Regions from separate parts of the Homo sapiens genome. Here regions 1, 2 and 3 are each linked to region 4. Evidence: promoter capture Hi-C in 16 types of primary human blood cells and fetal thymus (Javierre and others, 2016). All regions are on one chromosome and are shown on one strand. Each heading gives the region's core, a stretch centred on a gene start or on the middle of the fragment in contact. The rest is flanking DNA. Distances are from core to core; before and after follow the strand shown.

Evidence for each region. The method cuts DNA at HindIII sites, captures the fragments that hold promoters and counts their contacts. A CHiCAGO score of 5 or more calls a contact.
Region 1: a fragment that was not itself captured here is called in contact with the fragment with the promoter of WFDC1 in region 4 in 4 of 17 cell types (M1 macrophages, M2 macrophages, M0 macrophages and 1 more); the score reaches 9.0 in M1 macrophages.
Region 2: a fragment that was not itself captured here is called in contact with the fragment with the promoter of WFDC1 in region 4 in 1 of 17 cell types (M1 macrophages); the score reaches 6.5 in M1 macrophages.
Region 3: a contact is called between a fragment that was not itself captured here and the fragment with the promoter of WFDC1 in region 4, in 5 of 17 cell types (M1 macrophages, M2 macrophages, M0 macrophages and 2 more). The highest score is 9.6, in M1 macrophages.

The regions. Positions count from the first base shown.
Region 1 is chr16:84,485,530-84,489,618 of GRCh38, forward strand. It overlaps MEAK7 (MTOR associated protein MEAK7), which reads right to left. Exons shown (of 8, transcript NM_020947.4): 4 at 3,749-3,893; 5 at 1,102-1,530. Among named protein-coding and RNA genes, the nearest start is that of MEAK7, 17 kb to the right of the region's middle. The HindIII fragment of the contact is 2,956 bases long and covers 707-3,662 here.
Region 2 is chr16:84,467,089-84,471,410 of GRCh38, forward strand. ATP2C2-AS1 (ATP2C2 antisense RNA 1) reads right to left here and starts at 273. Exons shown (of 3, transcript NR_146503.1): 1 at 216-273. The HindIII fragment of the contact is 2,457 bases long and covers 1,694-4,150 here.
Region 3 is chr16:84,444,210-84,448,771 of GRCh38, forward strand. ATP2C2 (ATPase secretory pathway Ca2+ transporting 2) reads left to right here. Exons shown (of 27, transcript NM_014861.4): 16 at 2,120-2,221; 17 at 4,324-4,480. Among named protein-coding and RNA genes, the nearest start is that of ATP2C2-AS1, 21 kb to the right of the region's middle. The HindIII fragment of the contact is 223 bases long and covers 3,190-3,412 here.
Region 4 is chr16:84,292,626-84,297,010 of GRCh38, forward strand. It overlaps WFDC1 (WAP four-disulfide core domain 1), which reads left to right and starts at 2,253. Exons shown (of 7, transcript NM_021197.4): 1 at 2,253-2,490. The coding sequence starts at 2,347. It overlaps LOC124903734, which reads left to right. Exons shown (of 6, transcript XM_047435022.1): 5 at 892-1,010; 6 at 1,708-2,213. The coding sequence ends at 2,213. The HindIII fragment of the contact is 4,383 bases long and covers 1,839-4,385 here.

The DNA of each region.
Region 1 (4,089 bases), core at 935-3,434, 190 kb after region 4:
TACCGGGGAATGCCAAAGGCAAACCCTGGGGATGGTGGCCCACTCTCAAGTACAGAGGACAGCCCACTGATGGGCGACGCATCTGTAAACATTTCAAAAACTATCTATCTATCCATCCATCCATCCATCCATCCATCTATCTACCTATCTATCTATCTATCTATCTATCTAGAGATGGAGTCTCGCTCTGTTGCTCAGGCTGGAGTGCGGTGGTATGATCTCGGCTCACTGCAACTCTGCTTCCGAGGTTCAAGCAATTCTCATGCCTCAGCCTCCCACGTAGCTGGGATTACAGGCATGCGCCACCACACCCATCTAATTTGTGTACTTTCAGTAGAGACGTGGTTTCACCACGTTCACCAGGCTGGTCTCAAATGCCTGACCTCAAGTGATCCACCTGCCTCGGACTCCCAAAGTGCTGGGATTACAGGCTTGAGCCACCACGCCCAGCCTTATTATTTTTTTTTTTTTTTTAAGATAGAGGCAAGGTCTCACTATGTTGCCCATGCTGGTCTCAAACTCCTGGGTTCAAGTGATCCTCCTGCCTCAGCCTCCCAAAATGCTGGGATTCCAGGTGTGAGCCACTGCACCTGGCCTGTGTTTTAAATATTTTTAAAGGACTCTTTTCATCAGAGTATTCTTCCTTGAGGGAAGGAAAAGAATTTACTTAGAACCTTTCATCCAGTGCATTCAAGGTCATGCACAAAGCTTCCAAATTCCAACAAGCAAACGCGTGGCGGTGGGGGCAGGGGCAGGAAGGCCCAGGGAAGGAAAATGTCCGATCTGAACCAATTACCATCTCCTGGTCCCCTCGGAGGCATCTGTGGCTTGACTTCTCCCACGCCCCATAGACCCGGCACCGTGTAATAACTGGGCCCGTGTCCTCGCCTGAAAACTGGGGGTCACACGGCCTGTCCTGAAGAACTCTGATGTGATAAACACCATAGAGCAGCATCACATTTTCCTATCGCCCCGACTGCGTCTAGAGAAACACTTGGAGAAGATGGGAGAGCCCTATTTAGCACCCCCACCCTCTCCCTTTCTCCAGAGCTCTTTGCCCGTGCTGTGCCACTCGTCAAGGTTCAGGACACCAAGTCTTACCTTGAAACTGAGGCTTCACCTCCCAAGAGCAAGAGGCAAACCCACCGAACACATGCTTGTCATGGTCCTCGAGGACAGCCACACAGGGTCCCCGGTGAGTGATGTGGCCACAGAGCTGGGAGAAGCTGTGTCCATGGAGCTCAGACGAAAAGAGCAGGCACCAGCGGTGCCGCTGCTCCCGAGGCAGCTGGGCGTTGATGTACATGACAGAGAGGACATCCAGGATGCTCTCAAAACCCCTGCCCTGGTCCACTTGACGCTCAGGGACCAGGGTAGTCAGATCAAGAGACGAGCACAGGATGAGAAAGCCCTTGCAAATGACCACACTCAGGAATATGGCCACATGGGGGACCCTGAACACCCAGTCCTCGATCACAGCTCGGTCACAGTCATAGTCCAGCCACTGGGGCCCCAGAAGTCTCTTGCCATCTAGGGGAAGGGGATGGTCAGCATTAGTGGGGCTGTTATGTCACCATTTAGCTACTATCTAAACCCACACTGATCAGTGTGGGAGCCACGAGTCACATGCAATTACTGAGCACAGAAAACAGGGCTCGTGTGAATTGAGAGGTGCCGTCAGTGTAAAAGGCACACTTGATTTCAAAGATTTGGTATGAAAAAAGAATGTAAAATATCTCAATTTTTAAATATTCATTACATTTCAAAATTGTATTTAGGACATATTATTAGAATCAGTTTTCCCCTGTTTCTCTTTACTCTTTTAACATGGTCCCTAGAAAAGGGAAAATTTCACATGGGGCTTGCTTTGTCTATTGGCCAGCACTGATCTAAACAATCCGACTTCAACACTTTTCTCTCCTCTCCAAGCAGCATTTCAGAACCCCTCGAGATGGCAGTGCCCTGGCAATGGGGCTGGAATAAATGCCTGAGCTACACCTGGAGCCGCTCATCCAAGGGCGTCGGTCCTGCCAAGGTCACTGGAAGGGGAATGTTCCCAGCCAGTCAAGGGGCTGGTAGGGCACTTCCTGGGACTCCTGCAGTTTATCTGGGAAGTGCGGGTTTCATTCGCCACTAATCAGGCTTAATCATACAGCACTTGGAGCCCTATTTTCCATCCCTCACCCACTAAGAGTGGAGGTGACAGTAAGAGCGTGGGAGCACACACCTGGGACTCGAACAGCTGGCTTCAAACCCGAGCTCAGGAACAGCATGACCTTGCCAAGGTCTGGACCTCTGTGCCTCAGTTTCCTCAGGTATAAAATGGAGGTAAGGCCAGAACCTGCCCCGCTCGGTTATTACAAGGAACAGAGGAGCTTTTACGTCTTAAGCTCTTGCTGACACAAAGGCCCCATTTACAGAGATTATAATTCCCAACCTAGCGAAAATTTGACTAAGCTGAAATATTTTGTGTAACTCAGGCCCATTTTATTAAGCAGGAAATGTAAAAGTACTCCCAACTTCTGATAATTCAAAATTCCTATCATTTCTATTTATTTTTCAAACAGTTTCATTTCTCATTACCTATATATTACTTGAAATCTTAAGGATAATTTTAATCGTCTGAATTACCTTTTCTACTTCACTGAAAACTTTAATTTTTATTTTCATGATTCTTCTTTTAAAACATACTGATTCTAGATGGATGAACAGTTTACCCATAAGACGAATTACTGATACTTACTTGTAAAATTCTTTCCAAGTTCCAAATACCTCATCTAAACTAACTTCTGAAATATAACCTATTTTCAAGCTGTACTTTAAAATCTGGCTTTAAAACAAAAGGGCAACATATTTATAAAGTAAGTCTGCTTTGCAAAGTGATTTGCCACAAGGTTTTTTTTTTTAATCCCAATTAAATTTAAATATATACTGCTTCTCACCCAACAACAGAATACACATTCTTCTCAAATGTGCTTTAAACATTATCCAGAAGTGACCATACTATAGGCCATAAATGATGCATCAACAAATTTTAAAGGATTCAAATAATACAAAGTATCTTCTCTAAACATAATGAAATATAATCAAAAATCAGTACTAAAAGGCAATTTGAGGAATTCACAGGCATGGAGAAATTAAATAACACACTGTTACATAGCCAGTAGGCCAAATGAAAAAATCCTAAGGGACATTAGAAAATATTGAGATCAATGAAAATAAAAACATAACCTATCAAAACTTATGGCATGCAGCGAAGGCAGTGCTGAAAGGGAAATGTGCAAGTGTAAATGCTTATTTGAAAAAGAAGATCTCGAATCAATAACCTAGTATTCTATCTTAAGAAACTAGGAAAAGAAGACCAAACAAATTTAAAGCAAACAGAAGGAAGAAAATAAAAGCTAGAGGAAAATAAATAGAAACTAGAAAGACAACAGAAAATTAATGAAACTAAAAGCTGGTTCTTCAAAAAGTACCGACAAAAATGTGAAAACCCTTTAGCTAGACTAAGAGGAAAAAGGGACAAGAGACAAATTATTTAAATCAGTAATGGAAGTGGGGACATCCCTATTGCTTTTGGGAAAATAAGGATTATTTTAAAATATGCCAACAAACTAGAAAACCTAGAAGAAGGTTCGAGGGCTCACGCATTCTGGTTTCAAAGCTTTACTACACAGCTACAGTAATGGAGACAGCAGGTACCGCTCTACAGCAAAAGACCTGCATCACCGCGTCCACGCACACTTGCCTTGCAGCTTCATGTCAGAGAGCAGCTGAGCAGCCAGCACCTGCACCCGGGGGTTGGGCCCTGGGGCTTCCTTCCCAGTCCAGCCTCTCAGCTCCTGTCTGTGGCTTAGCACGTGCACCACAGAGCCAACCAGATCCTCTGTAAACTGTAAGATCACAATTTTACCATTAAAAACAGTTCCACCATATCCTGAGACCTATGTCATGCCCACATGGAGAAGGGCAATTTTCTTTAACACCAACTATGATGGGCCACAATGTGGGGAAAGGTCATGCAATGTATGTAGTTACTCGTTTTTCTAATGATGCACTTGGCTGGCCTAGAACTTTTCCCAAAGCCTT
Region 2 (4,322 bases), core at 1,672-4,171, 180 kb after region 4:
GAATACTATTTGTCTGTCTCAAAAAAAAGTATCAATTCTCCCGAGATTGTTGTATTAGGTTTAACACAATTACCATCAAAATCCCAGGGTTTTTTTGTTTTTGTTTTTTTTTAAGACACAGATAAACTTGTTCTAACAAGCTTGGTATGATATTGTTATCAGCAGACCTATTTCAATTTCACTGGTTTTTACATAGTATCTGATGTTAGGCAAACCTGAGTTTAAGGGCACAGTGCTCCAGGTGGCTGGCCAAGTCTGCCCAGGCCTTCTGATACTGACTGCAGGTCCAAGAGTTTCCCACAACCACCTTCAGGTTGGATGATTCGTTGATGAGGCACACAGAGCTCACTGACACCTGTCATGCTCACAGCCATGTCTATTACCAGGAAAAGATACAGATTAGAACAGCCCCAGGGCTGCAACTGCAGAGACTGGTCACCCTCTCCCTCTGAGCTCAACAGTTTCTGAGTCCTGAGTCTTTCTAGCCAATCACTGGGTCTGAGAGTGGTTTCCTGCCCCCCACAACACAAGTTCTATGAAATTGTATGACACACATCAATTCAGGTAACCACTGCTACAATGAGGAGGCAAAACTTCCATCGCCCCTGAAAAACTCCTCCTTACTTTTTATAGTAACACCCTCCTAATCCCAGCAACCTCTAATCCCTTCTTCATCACCATAATGTTGTTCCTTCAATACTGTTACATAAATGGAATCATGGTATAGAACCTTTTAAGACTGGCTTTTGTCACTAAGCATAATACCTGTAAGGTCCCTTCAAGTTGTTTTATGTGTGTTCTTCTTCATGGCTGACTAGTATTCCACTGCATGGATGTACCACAATTTCTTTATCCACTCACTCATGGAGTGACAGAAACTCCTGTACAATTTTTGGAAGTCTATATGAATCTAAAATTATTTCAAAGTGTGTAAGAAGATAAGATATACTCATAGGGCAAAAATACACCAGGTAAAGACAAACAACACACAAGACCAAGGTGACACAGTCTAATCAGACAAGATTAAAAGAAAGGCCAAAAGCATTAAAGGAGACCAAGAAGGAAATTTAACAAGATATAATCACCACTGAAAAATCCATAGGCCAGACTATGTACCAACACAACATTCAAATTTAAAGAGGAAACAGTATGGGAAATTCAGGCAAAGGATACAGAAAATTCATTATATTAACTTACCACATGAAAGGACACAAAACCTCAGTGATTCCAAAGAGTAGATCTAATATAGATGACTTCTTGGTCGGGCATGGTGGCTCAGACCTGTAATCCCAGAACTTTGGGAGGCCGAGGCGGTTGGATCACTTGAGGTAAGGAGTTTGAGACCAGCCTGGGCAACATAGCGAAACCCCATCTCTACTAAAAATACAAAAATTAGCTGGGCATGGTGGTGGGCGCCTGTAATCCCAGGCTACTCGGGAGGCTGAGGCAGGAGAATCGCTTGAACCTGGGAGGCAGAGGTAGCAGTGAGCTGAGATCACACCATGGCACTCCAGCCTGGGCAATGAAGTGAGGCTCTGTCTTAAAAAAATAATAATACAGATGACATCTCTAATCACTATGCAATCTAATTTAAAGACGAGTGACAGGACTAGGGGAAATTCTCTAGCACAGCAAAATTTAAAAACTCTTGGGTACAAGAGAAAATCAAAATGAAGGCCACAGAAAATCTAGAAGCTTATGATCAACACACACCTATCTATACAATACTGCAAAATAACTCAGGGCCCAAGAAAAAAGTAATAGCTTTATGTATTCATCTACTTCCATTATTTTTTATTTAGTAAAATAACTCAAAAAACTGAAAAAAAAAAACTGAAGAAAAGCAGGAATAATATAAAAGCAAAATTAGTAACTGAATCCAATCTAGGAAAATGAAAACACAAGAAAAGGAAAAAAAACATAACTACAAAAGAGTTTCAATACTTTGGGGTCAATATTACATAAAGTAATTTGAAGACTTCCAGCAGAGATTTAAAACAATCCAATGGTAAAAGAAATGGATAAGGTTGTCAAGAGTTAATCCCATCCTCACCTACATCATCAGAAGCAGGAATGCAGACCTGCAATATGCATTTTAAGAAGCTCTCTAGGCAAATCTGATGCATGCTCAAGCGGGGAGAACTACTGGATAAAAGAGGTCAGTAAGAGGCCTGGAACGGTGGTTCATGCCTGGAATCCCAGCACTTTGGGAGGCTGTGGTGGGTGGATTGCTTGAGCTCAGGGGTTTGAGACCAACCTGGGCAACATGGCGAAACCACCTCTACAAAAAACACGAAATTTAGCTGGGAGTGGTGGTGTGCATCTGTAGTCCCAGCTACTCGGGAGGCTGAGGTGGGAGGATTGCTTGACTCTGGAGGCAGAGGCTGAAATGAGTTGAGGTCATGTCACTGCATTCCAGCCTGGATAATAGAGCAAGACCCTGTCTCAAAAAAAAAAAACAAACAAAAAAAAAAACCGGCACGGTGTCTCACGCCTGTAATCCTGGCACTTTGGGAGGTTGAGGTGGGTAGATCACAAGGTCAGGAGATTGAGACCATCCTGGCCAACATGGTGAAACCTCATCTCTACTAAAATACAAAACATCAGCCAGGCATGGTGGTTGCACACCTGTAGTCCCAGCCACTCGGAAGGCTGAGGCAGGAGAACTGCTTGAACCCAGGACGCGGAGATTGCAGTGAGCCAAGATCACGCTACTGCACTCCAGCCTGGATGACAGAGCAAGATTCCATCTCAAAAAGAAAAAAAAAAAAAAAAGAATTCAGTAAGGTAACTGGGAATAAAAACTACAAAAATCAAGAGCTTCCTATGTTAAAATAACCATCACTTAGGAAAAAATGTCCACTGACAGTCCCAGAAATGACAATAAAAATTTACCTAAGAAGCTAGATGTCCCTGTTCTTGGATAGAAGCATCAACGTTAGCCAAATGTCAGCATTAAATATACATTAACATAGGCAGAACCATTTGGAAAGTACTATCCTATTTTTTAGAAGTGGTCACAGTGCAAAGGTCGGAGAAAATAAGCAGCCAAGCATTTGCCGAAAAATTCCAAAAAACAGTAGTAAGAGAAAAACGGCTCTTACATATTTTTATCACCAAATTCCAGCAATTAAAACATGAGAGAGACCTCAATTCATACAGAAACTCAGCTGATGACAAAGTATCATTAGAAGTCAATGGGAAAAGACAAACCACTTAATATACAAGGTAATGGGACTTTATTTTGGGCTAAGATAGGACTATATGTTTAAATGCCTTTTGAAGGCCAGGCACGGTGGCTCATGCCTGTAATCCCAGCACTTTGGGAGGCTAAAATGGGAGGATCACCTGAGGTCAGGAGTTCGAGACCAGCCTGGCCAACATGGTGAAACCCCATCTCTACTAAAAATACAAAAATTAGCCAGGTGTGATGGCAAGCACCTGTAATCCCAGCTACTCGGGAGGCTGAGGCAGGCTAATGTCTTGAACCTAGGAGGCGGAGGTTGCAGTCAGCTGAGATCACACCACTGCACTCCACCTGGGTGACAGAGTGAGACTCCATCTCAAAAAGTAAAAAAAAAATATATATATATATATATATATGCATACACACACACACATATATAATTTATATATATACACACACATAAAAATATATATATATACACACACACACACATATATATATATAAAAGCCTTTTGAATAGATAAAAGATTTAAGAGGTAAAAACAGAAACCACAGTAGAAGAAAATGATTTTTAATACTCAGAGTAGAGACAGACTGCCTAAACAAACGGCAAATCCAAAGACCCTTAAGCAGAAATGCTGGGAAATATGACAGAAACTGTAAAATTTATGGGCAGAAAAACGCCACAAACGAAGTCAAATAAACCGTAGAAAACATTGACCATACATGGGAAATGCTACTTCATTCATAAAAAGCACTGTTGGCCGGGTGTGGTGGCTTGCACCTGTAATCCCAGCACTTTCGGAGGCTGAGGCAGGAGGATCCCTTGAGTTCAGGAGTTCAAGACCAGCTTGGGCAACATATTGAGACCTCATTTCTATTTTATTTTTTAAAAGCACTGTTACAAATCGATAAGAAAAAGACCGACACCCTAGAAAACCAAGAAAAAGATATGATACAGAAAGCTTTTGAAAAATGAGGCTGTTCACTGTCACTTGGTAGAAAAATTTAAACAGTACAGTTTTGAGCAAGACACCATATGGGAGCCCAGCCCACAAGAGACTGCACACCAGCCTGGGGCTCAGCAGCACCAGGGCAGAGGCACAGCAAAGTGCGGGCTGCCACTGCCAAGGTG
Region 3 (4,562 bases), core at 2,051-4,550, 150 kb after region 4:
CACCTGTAATCGCAACACTTTGGGAGACCGAGGCAGGTGGATCACCTGAGGTCAGGAGTTCAAGACCAGCCTGGCCAACATGGTGAAACCTCATCTCTACTAAAAATATAAAAATTAGCTGGGCATGGTGGTGCACACCTGTAATCCCAGCTACTCGGGAGGCTGAGGCAGGAGAATTGCTTGAACCCAGGAGGCGGAGGTTACAGTGAGCCGAGATCGTACCATTGCACTCCAGCCTGGGTGACAGAGCAAGACTCCGTCTCAAAAAAACAAACAGAAATCATGACATCGTATTATTTTTCTTCCATTCACAGAAGAGAATTCTCTCTGCAATGTCTGTAATAGTGAATGGAGCTCATTTCCCGTTTTAAAATAGTGCTGAGTCTGCCCCATTCAACAACTCCTCGCCGCCCAGAAGGGAAGGTGCCGGCCTGACCGCCTGGCAGGAATGACACCCATGTGTCACCTTGCTTCCGCCACCAGCCGTCCCTGCAGCCTAGAGAGGAGAGAGGTTCCAGCACCCAGAAGAGATTTCCTTGATGTGTTATAATTTTCCTTTTTCCTGGGGCCTGGCTTAAGATTTTGGAATACAGAACAAACACTGGCTGGCATGTAGGAAGTGCTGCCTGTGTGACAGGCATGGGGCAAGCACTTTGTGGTTCTTACCTGTCTCACCTGCTCTAAATGGCACTGAGGCCAGGCCAGTGGTTCCCGGGCTTTTCTTCCATTATTGCTCCTGGATTAGGGTCTTGGGGTTACTGAAATAAAACACCACTGGCTGGTGATTTAGTGTAACCAAAACACACTGAAACACAGCTCTGTGGCCAGAAGTTGAAATCAAGGTGTGAGCAGGGCCAGGCTCCGTCTCCCAGTTTCTGGGTGTTACTGGCAGCCCCGGGCGTTCCTTGACTCGCAGACGCATCCCTGCCTTGGTCTCTCACACCAAGCTCTGTCTCTGTCACGAGGTGCTCCCCGCCACGCCTCTGCGCAGCGTTTTCCTCTTTTTTTTTTTTTTTTGAGACGGAGTCTCGCTCTGTTGCCCAGGCTGGAGTGCACTGGCTTGATCTCCGCTCACTGCAACCTCCGCCTCCCAGGTTCAAGCGATTCTCCTGCCTCAGCCTCCCAAGTAGCTGGGACTACAGGCGCCTGCCACCACGCCTGGCTAACTTTTTGTATTTTTAGTAGAGACAGGGTTTCACCATGTTAGTCAGGATGGTCTTGATCTCCTCACCCCGTGATCCACCCGCCTCGGCTGCCCAAAGTCCTGGGATTACAGGCATGAGCCACCATGCCCGGCCTTCCTCCTCTTATATCCAGTCATGTTGGCTTAGGGCCAACCCTAATAGCCTCAAATTGACGATATCTGCAAAGGCGCTATTCCAAATCAGGTCACATTCAGAGGTTCCGAGGTTAGGACTTCAACATATCTTTTGTGGGGTACAATTCAACCCCACTAAGGAGATGGTTTAGGCATTTCTTCCCTAATCACCCCACTCCCTCCCCATGAAATTTAATATGGTAGATACACTGTATTGTACGCATATCTGCACTTTCTACGTAAAAGGAGTAGTTTTTTGTGCCCCTGCTGCACCGCATTTTCACCCCCTGTGGGACAGTGGGATGCATGGGTCATGACTGGTTTACACCTGGGGAAACTGAGATTCTGAGTTGTCACATCACTGATCCAAAAGCCACCAAAGAGCAACAAAGGGCCAGGCTGGCAAGGACCCCAGGCTGTGGACGGGGGGCTGGCAAGGACCCCATGTTCTGGACGCAGGGCTGTCTCACTGACTCAGGGGGTTCCGTCTGAGAAATTGCTACACCTTCAAGTCTGAAACATTCCTCCCGGCAGAAACACTGCAGGTTTGTTTCTAAGCAGATTTCAGATAGAAGCTGTTGCAAAGACCGTCTTGTCTGCCCTTCAGCCAAGAGAAGAGACTTTTTTTTTTTTTTCTAGGTGGGACATTCCAAGAGAAATGGCCTTTTTTCTATGTGCTAAATGCTTGGATTTCTTATCTGCCAGAGGTGGTTTGAACAATGAATAATTTAAATGGACTGAGCTTTGTATAGAGATTGGCTTCGGATGACTCACTAAAAATGTGTCATTTTATTATGCTAGATGGACTTAAGTGATATTAAAAATTCATATATAAGAAAAAAAGAGATTCCATTCAGTTCAGAGCAGAAGTGGATGGCGGTGAAATGCAGTCTGAAGACTGAGGTGAGACCTTTCAATCTTCAACCTCTTCTCTCTTTCTGCCCGGGCCCCCACCCAGAGATAAAGCAAAATGCAGACTTCAAGGATAATTTGAAAGTTCCTGGCTGCTTCTGTGACGTTCCAAATACATGGAAAAACTTAATCACCATCATACCTTTGATTCTCTTGGGTCTGCTTCTGGCTTTTTGTTTAAAACAGAAGTTCTTAAAGCAGGGTCCCTGGAGTAGCAGCGGTTGTTACCACGCGAGACTTTATTAGAAATGCAGAATCTCAGGTTCCATGCCAGACCTCCTGAGTCGAAGGGTCCAGGGGTGGGACCCAGTAACCTTCATTTTCTGCAGATTCTGATGCAGGTGCAAATGTTGAGATCGACCAGCCTGTAATCCAGTGACTGAGGCCCTGCTGCTAACACCAGTCGCCAACTTGCCAGTCCTCTCTTTGCAGCCCTGTGCTAAGTTTTTTATACTTCTTAGCTCATCTCCCCGTCATACTGGGGAGCAAATCCTTCAGTACGGAAGGCGTGTCTGTGTGGTGCATCAGCGTGTGCACACGTGTTGTCCCTGGCTAGAGGAACACATACCAAGCTATGGCCACCCCGGGTGGACATTACAGCTGATTTTTAAAATTTTCTTTTCAGATTTGTTGTGGCTTTTCAGATTTTCCTTAAAAGCTATTTTTTAAAGTTTTTGTTGCCTTCTACCGTTTTCTCCACCCCTCCTCTTCCCTCCCACTCTTTCTAGAATCTATCATGTCTGCCCACGCAGACTGCTCAGCTCCCACTCAGGGCTGTGGGCAGCTCAGCCAGCTCATGCCAGGCCCTTCCTGTGCATGGATGGACACATGTACATTTCAGGGGCTTAGAAGGGATTATAGATTTTCAAAAAACTTTTAGACCTTTAAATCTTTTCCCTTGCAAGGCAATGGTAATATATTCTCATTGAAAAAGTATAGAAATATGACATAAAAATGAAAGCTTCTTTCATTCCACCCTTCTTCCCTCCCTCCCCACCACCCACCCAGAGGTAATTCTATTTTAAGTCTGGGATGGAGCATTGCAGATTTTAAATATGCAAACGACAACATCTGGATGGTATTTTCAAAACAAGGTCACTATTTATAGTGTGTGTAATTTGCTTTTTCCCCCTAAGATTTTCTTTTAATATTATGTCTTAGATGTCTGTGTTGGTTAATATAAGCTTGTTATATTAACATATTAATTATATAATATGTAATATATATTACATATATTACATATATTATTTAATATATATTATGTAATATATATTATAATTGTATAAGAATATATTAGTTATATATAATATATAATATACATATAAATAATATAATGTAATATAATACATATAAATAATATACAATACATATGTACTATAATTAATGTATTAACATCTGTAATTAATATTATATTTATTAATAACATTAATATGTTAATTACATATTAATAACATATATAATTAATATTATATTATCTTATAACAGTGTTACATTCACACTGTGCACCCACGTGAGCCAGGTATGTCCGGTATTGAGGCTAGGGGTACAGTGTGACTCTCACTGACCCAGGGCCTCCCCCCGTGGAGTTCATAGTCTACATGTTTGTCATGACAGAGCTTAAGAAAAACACAGGAAAAATGATCAGCTACTCATGTGGCTTCACTATTACAAGCCAAGTGCTGGGGGTGGGTACAAAATAGACTTGGTGCTGCCCTAGGGAGGCAACAGTCTAATGGAAATATTCCCAGTTAATCACACCCCCAAAGGCACAGTCCCAGCTGGGATGATACCTCCCGTGCATGAAACATACAAGACGCTCTGAGTGACCATAACAAGGGAACTGAAAAAAGAACAAGGGTAGTACAGGTTGAAGATTGGCCTTGTTCTTTCTCTGGACTGCAAAACGTTCCATGGATGGATTCTAGAACTTCGCGAACCTGTCCAGCACCTGTGAACAGCACCAGCCTATGATAAATAACTCCGCTGCAAAGATCCCCGTGTGTGTCTTTGTAACCTTGTGCAGAGTGGGGTGATGGTCAGTATGAACCAAGGCTTCCAGTGATAGTGGATTTCTTCCCTTTGTCTTTTCTAAGGATCAGGAAGACATTTACTTCATGAAAGGGGCCTTGGAAGAGGTGATCCGCTACTGCACCATGTACAACAACGGGGGCATCCCCCTGCCGCTGACGCCCCAGCAGAGGTCATTCTGCCTGCAGGAAGAGAAGAGGATGGGGTCGCTCGGTTTGCGGGGTCAGTGCCTGTGGTCCCGGCCCAGAGCTTTAAGCTTGCATGTAACATTGACTTTTAAGTGCATTCAAGCAGGGTCCCTAGT
Region 4 (4,385 bases), core at 1,003-3,502:
AGGGGCATTGAGACTGCGTCCCATAAAGCTGAAAGAAGAGGGAGTGGAGCACGCTGGACCATGCCCCCATAAGGGCTCAGCCAGTAGTTTCTGGATGAAGAAATGAAGGAATATTCTAGAATCTAGGGCAAGGTAATGATCAGGGCTGGGCCTAGCGGGAGGCAAAGGAGGCATCTAGGGTCTAAAATGTAAAAAGACTCTCACGCTTGGGCTCCTGGGTTTACAGGACTCTGATGGTGAACTTAAATTTTGCATTGCTCACTGGGCAAGTGTCTTAACCTCTCTGTGCATGGGATCCTAGACAGCACCTGCTTATAAGGCTAATATGAGACCTAAAAGCATTAAAATGCAGGAAGTGCTTCAAACATTGCCGAACACACAGACTGTATGGCTTTTAAGGTTTTTTTTTTTTGATACAGGGTCTTGCTCTGTGACCCAGGCTGGAGTACAGTGGCGCCATCACAGCTCACTGCAGCCTCAACCTCCCACGCTTAGGTGATCCTCCCATCTCAGTCTCCCAATTAGCTGGGACTACAGGTGTGCATCAGCACGCCGGGCTACTTTTTTTATTTTGTATTTTTTGTAGAGATGAGGTCTCACTATGTTGCCCAGACTGGTCTTGAACTCCTGGGCTCAAGGCATCCTCTGCCTCCCTAAGTGCTAGGATTACAAGTGTGAGCCACCGTACCCGACCTACACAGACTATATGTGTTTGCCACTATTGTCATTCACTAAAAGGCCAAGAGGGGTTGATGATACCTGCCCAGGGCATTCTGAAGGCTGTGCTGGCCAGGAGGTGGGGGGTGAGGGTCCCCAGGGAGGGAGGAACCAATCTTTCTGGAGCACTCACTCTGTGCAAGTGCTGGGCACAGCTGGCACCCTCTCCTGTAGCCCCACATCGATCTCAAGAGGCAGAGACTTTCACATGCCCATTTCACAGATGAGAGAACTGAGGACCATGAGCAAGAGGCTTTCCAGCATCTCGCAGAGGCTGAACTGGGATCAGGCAGGTGCGTCAAGCCTAGTGCTTGGGTCCCTTCTGCTTCGCCTAGGGGGGTGCCACAGGGTCTGACCTACCTGGGTTCCAGCCTCCTCTCTGCTGCTGTTGCATGACCTCAGGCAGCCCCCTCTGTTTCCTCATCTGTAAAGCGGGCATCAAAACAGTGTCTGTTTTGGGGCCGGGTGTGGTGGCTCACACACCTGTAATACCAGCACTTTGGGAGGCTGAGGCGGGCAGATCACTTAAGGTCAGGAGTTTGAGACCAGCCTGGCCAGCATGGTGAAACCCAGTCTCCACTAAAAATACAAAAATTAGCCAGGCATGGTGGCACATGCCTGTTATCCCAGCTACTTGGAAGGCCGAGACAGGAGAATCGCTTGAACCCGGGAGGCAGAGGTTGTAGTGATCTGTGATCACACCACTGCACTCCAGCGTGGGTGACAGAGCAAGACCCGTCTCGAAAAACAAAACAAAACAAAAAACCAGTATCTGTCTTGGAAGTGCTGAGAACAGACAAGGGAATATGAAGTTTGTGAAATGTTGAGCCCGCTGTGCTACATTCCTGTAAAACACACACGTGCACATGCACACCCACGTGCACACACGCATACACATAAATGCACATGTGCAGATACACCGGCTGACAGTGACAGCACACTTATGTGTGTGAAATGCTTTATGTGCTCAATTTCTTTTAAATCTCACAGGAAACACACGCTATGAGGAACTACCCACATGCCCACATCAGGCAGGAGGACCCCGGCGGGTGCAAGGGTGGAAGTCGTCTCTTCATGGCTGCACCCTTGGCCAGTGCCAGTCCAGCAGCCTCTTTCAAAGAAGCTTTTATAGGCAGATAGTTTGTCAGCCCAGCTCGAAATGTGAACAAGGTAGCAGCCGAGCCCCCACCCATCCGGCTGCACTCCCCTGCATGTCCAGCCCCGAGCCCTGTGTCAAGCACACCTCCTTGGGAGGAGACCGCCCCAGCCTGCAAGGAAGTGCTCATTATGGAGAGTGGAGAGTGACAGGCCACTCCCGGCCACGTCTCCAAGCAAGCCGGTGCCCCCTCCTCCTGCTGCCACCGCCCACTGAGCTGCCTGGGCTGCAGACGCCCTGGTTGGAGCGTCTGGGGCCAGATGTTATAGGGCAAGCTAAAAATAACCGGGCAGGCCAGCCACCATCGAGGAAGGGGCATGTGCTGGACGCGGACACATGATCCGAGGGACCCTGCTGGGTGGAACTAAGAAAGTCCAGCAGACTGTGCACGCTCCTGTCCCCACTCACAGGCCCACGCAGCGAGGGGGGCCCCTCTTCTGTGTGCGTCTGGAAGGTCGCTGCCCAGGGAGGAAATGCCTTTAACCGGCGTGGGGCCGGGCAGCTGCAGGAGGCAGATCATCCGGGCTCTGTGCCTCTTGCTACTTCTCCTCCACGCCGGCTCTGCCAAGAATATCTGGAAACGGGCATTGCCTGCGAGGCTGGCCGAGAAATCCCGTGTAAGTGCCTGGGATGGGGAGGCTGGGGCAGCCTGTGTGGGTGGGAGTCAGCCTTGAGGAGAGGCGATCCCTAGACACTGCCTTCTCCTGTAAGTGCTCCCCCAAAACGTGGCAAGGCAGGCGTCTTCCTATCCGTGTGTGTCTGAGTTGTGTGGTGGGCAGATGGGGCTCACCCCCAAAAAAGGACCCTTATCTGTGAATCAAGAGGCAAAAGACACATCACAAATGTGCCAAAGAATCGTGCCTTACTTTTGCCTTGTTACAAAAGTATGCTTGCTCCTGAAAGACAGCATCTCATTTCGGAACCCCAGGATTTAAACGGAGCATTCCGTCTCCCTGATCAGTACCAAATGTTTGTGAAATACACTTATGCATTCATGTGGTTGTTTATTCATTCAGCAAACAGAATGAATACACTCTGTTAAACAGAATTTAGCAGAAACCGCTCTGGGGAAGGCACTCTGTGGGGTCCTGTGGATACAAGATAAAGGAGGTACCAGCCCCCATCCTCAAGGGTGGCGTGGCCGAGGTGCAGAGGCAGTTGGGTGACAAACGATGGCAGTACAAAGAGAAGGCATGAGGCAGTGAGTGGCAAGAAACACATGCCCTGGGGCCAGATGTCTGGGTGTGAATCGGGCTCTGCTGCTCATTAGCTGCGTGGCTTCTCTCAGGCAAGCTGCTTGACGTCTCTGAACCCCAGCAATCTCATCTGCAAAAGACAGAGGGATGCATTTCTTCACACAACTATGTCTGGGTCGCCACTGTTTACCAGGTACTGTCCTAGGCTGTGGGGATACAGGCCTCACATCTCTGCCTGGGGAACTCAATGGGGGGCTGGGGGCAGCAAAGAATAAATGAGAGAGATCTCATTTATTAGTATGTGCAGATTGCAAGTGCTGAGGAAGCAATAAAGCAGGAAGGGAACTAGGAGAGAGAATGGGGTGGAGGAGGCTATCATTTTTGGTTCCTCCCACCCCCCAGAGATCACAGATCCGCAGGGACGGAGTGAGCCAGGACGATATCAGCACACAGAGGGCTCAAGAAGGTAATGCTGGCACCCACAGCACCTGTGTGAGGATTGAATGTCTCAGTATGTAGAACGTCTTTGCAACATAGCAAGCTGGCAGTGCATCTTGGCAGCTTTCAATCAAATAATTGTGACTTTGTTTGGTGTTGCCTAACAGGGTAGCATGTAGGTTCCTTGGGGTAGGGCAGGGTTCTGTTTCACTAATGTGTGCCCCTGGTGCCTGCCATTAAGTTGACGCCTGGTACATTCTTGTGGGTGAATTATGAGCGGCTGCAGTGGTAGCACGGGATGCGTGTGCAGCTCTTCCCCAGGAGAGTCAGACAGGGTTTTTAGGGTTGGGGACAGTGGACCTGTGGCTTTAAAGGATAAATAGGAGTTTGCCAGCTGGAGAAGAGGGAAGGGAGAATGATTAATGACCCCAGGCATAGTGGGGTGCCTGAAACTGTATTGAGACAAATCTGGGCCTCCAGGGCTCATATTCTCCATGTTCGGCACATGCTCGTGGCGGGAGACAGGAGGACTTCGAGAAGTGGAAAGAGTAGTAGAGTGACATGATGAGGCGCTTGGAGAAGGGAAAGCTCATGTGAGATGGTGTAGTCACCTAAGGCTTCCTGGAGGAGGTGGAGACCTTGACTGGATCTTGGGGAAGGATTAGGAATTAGGAGGAGGAAGGAAATTCCTGGAAGAAGGCTCAGCATGAGCCGAGGCTCACAGGCAGAAGTGGTGCATCTAAGAGCTGCTTGGGAGACCAGACCTGGCCAGAGGGGAGGCATTGAGGAGGGGTGAGAGACTCTTCTCAGATTTTATTGACTCCTCCATGCTCTTCTCTGGTGCAACAGGATGATTTAACCCTCAACTGTAGTTAGTA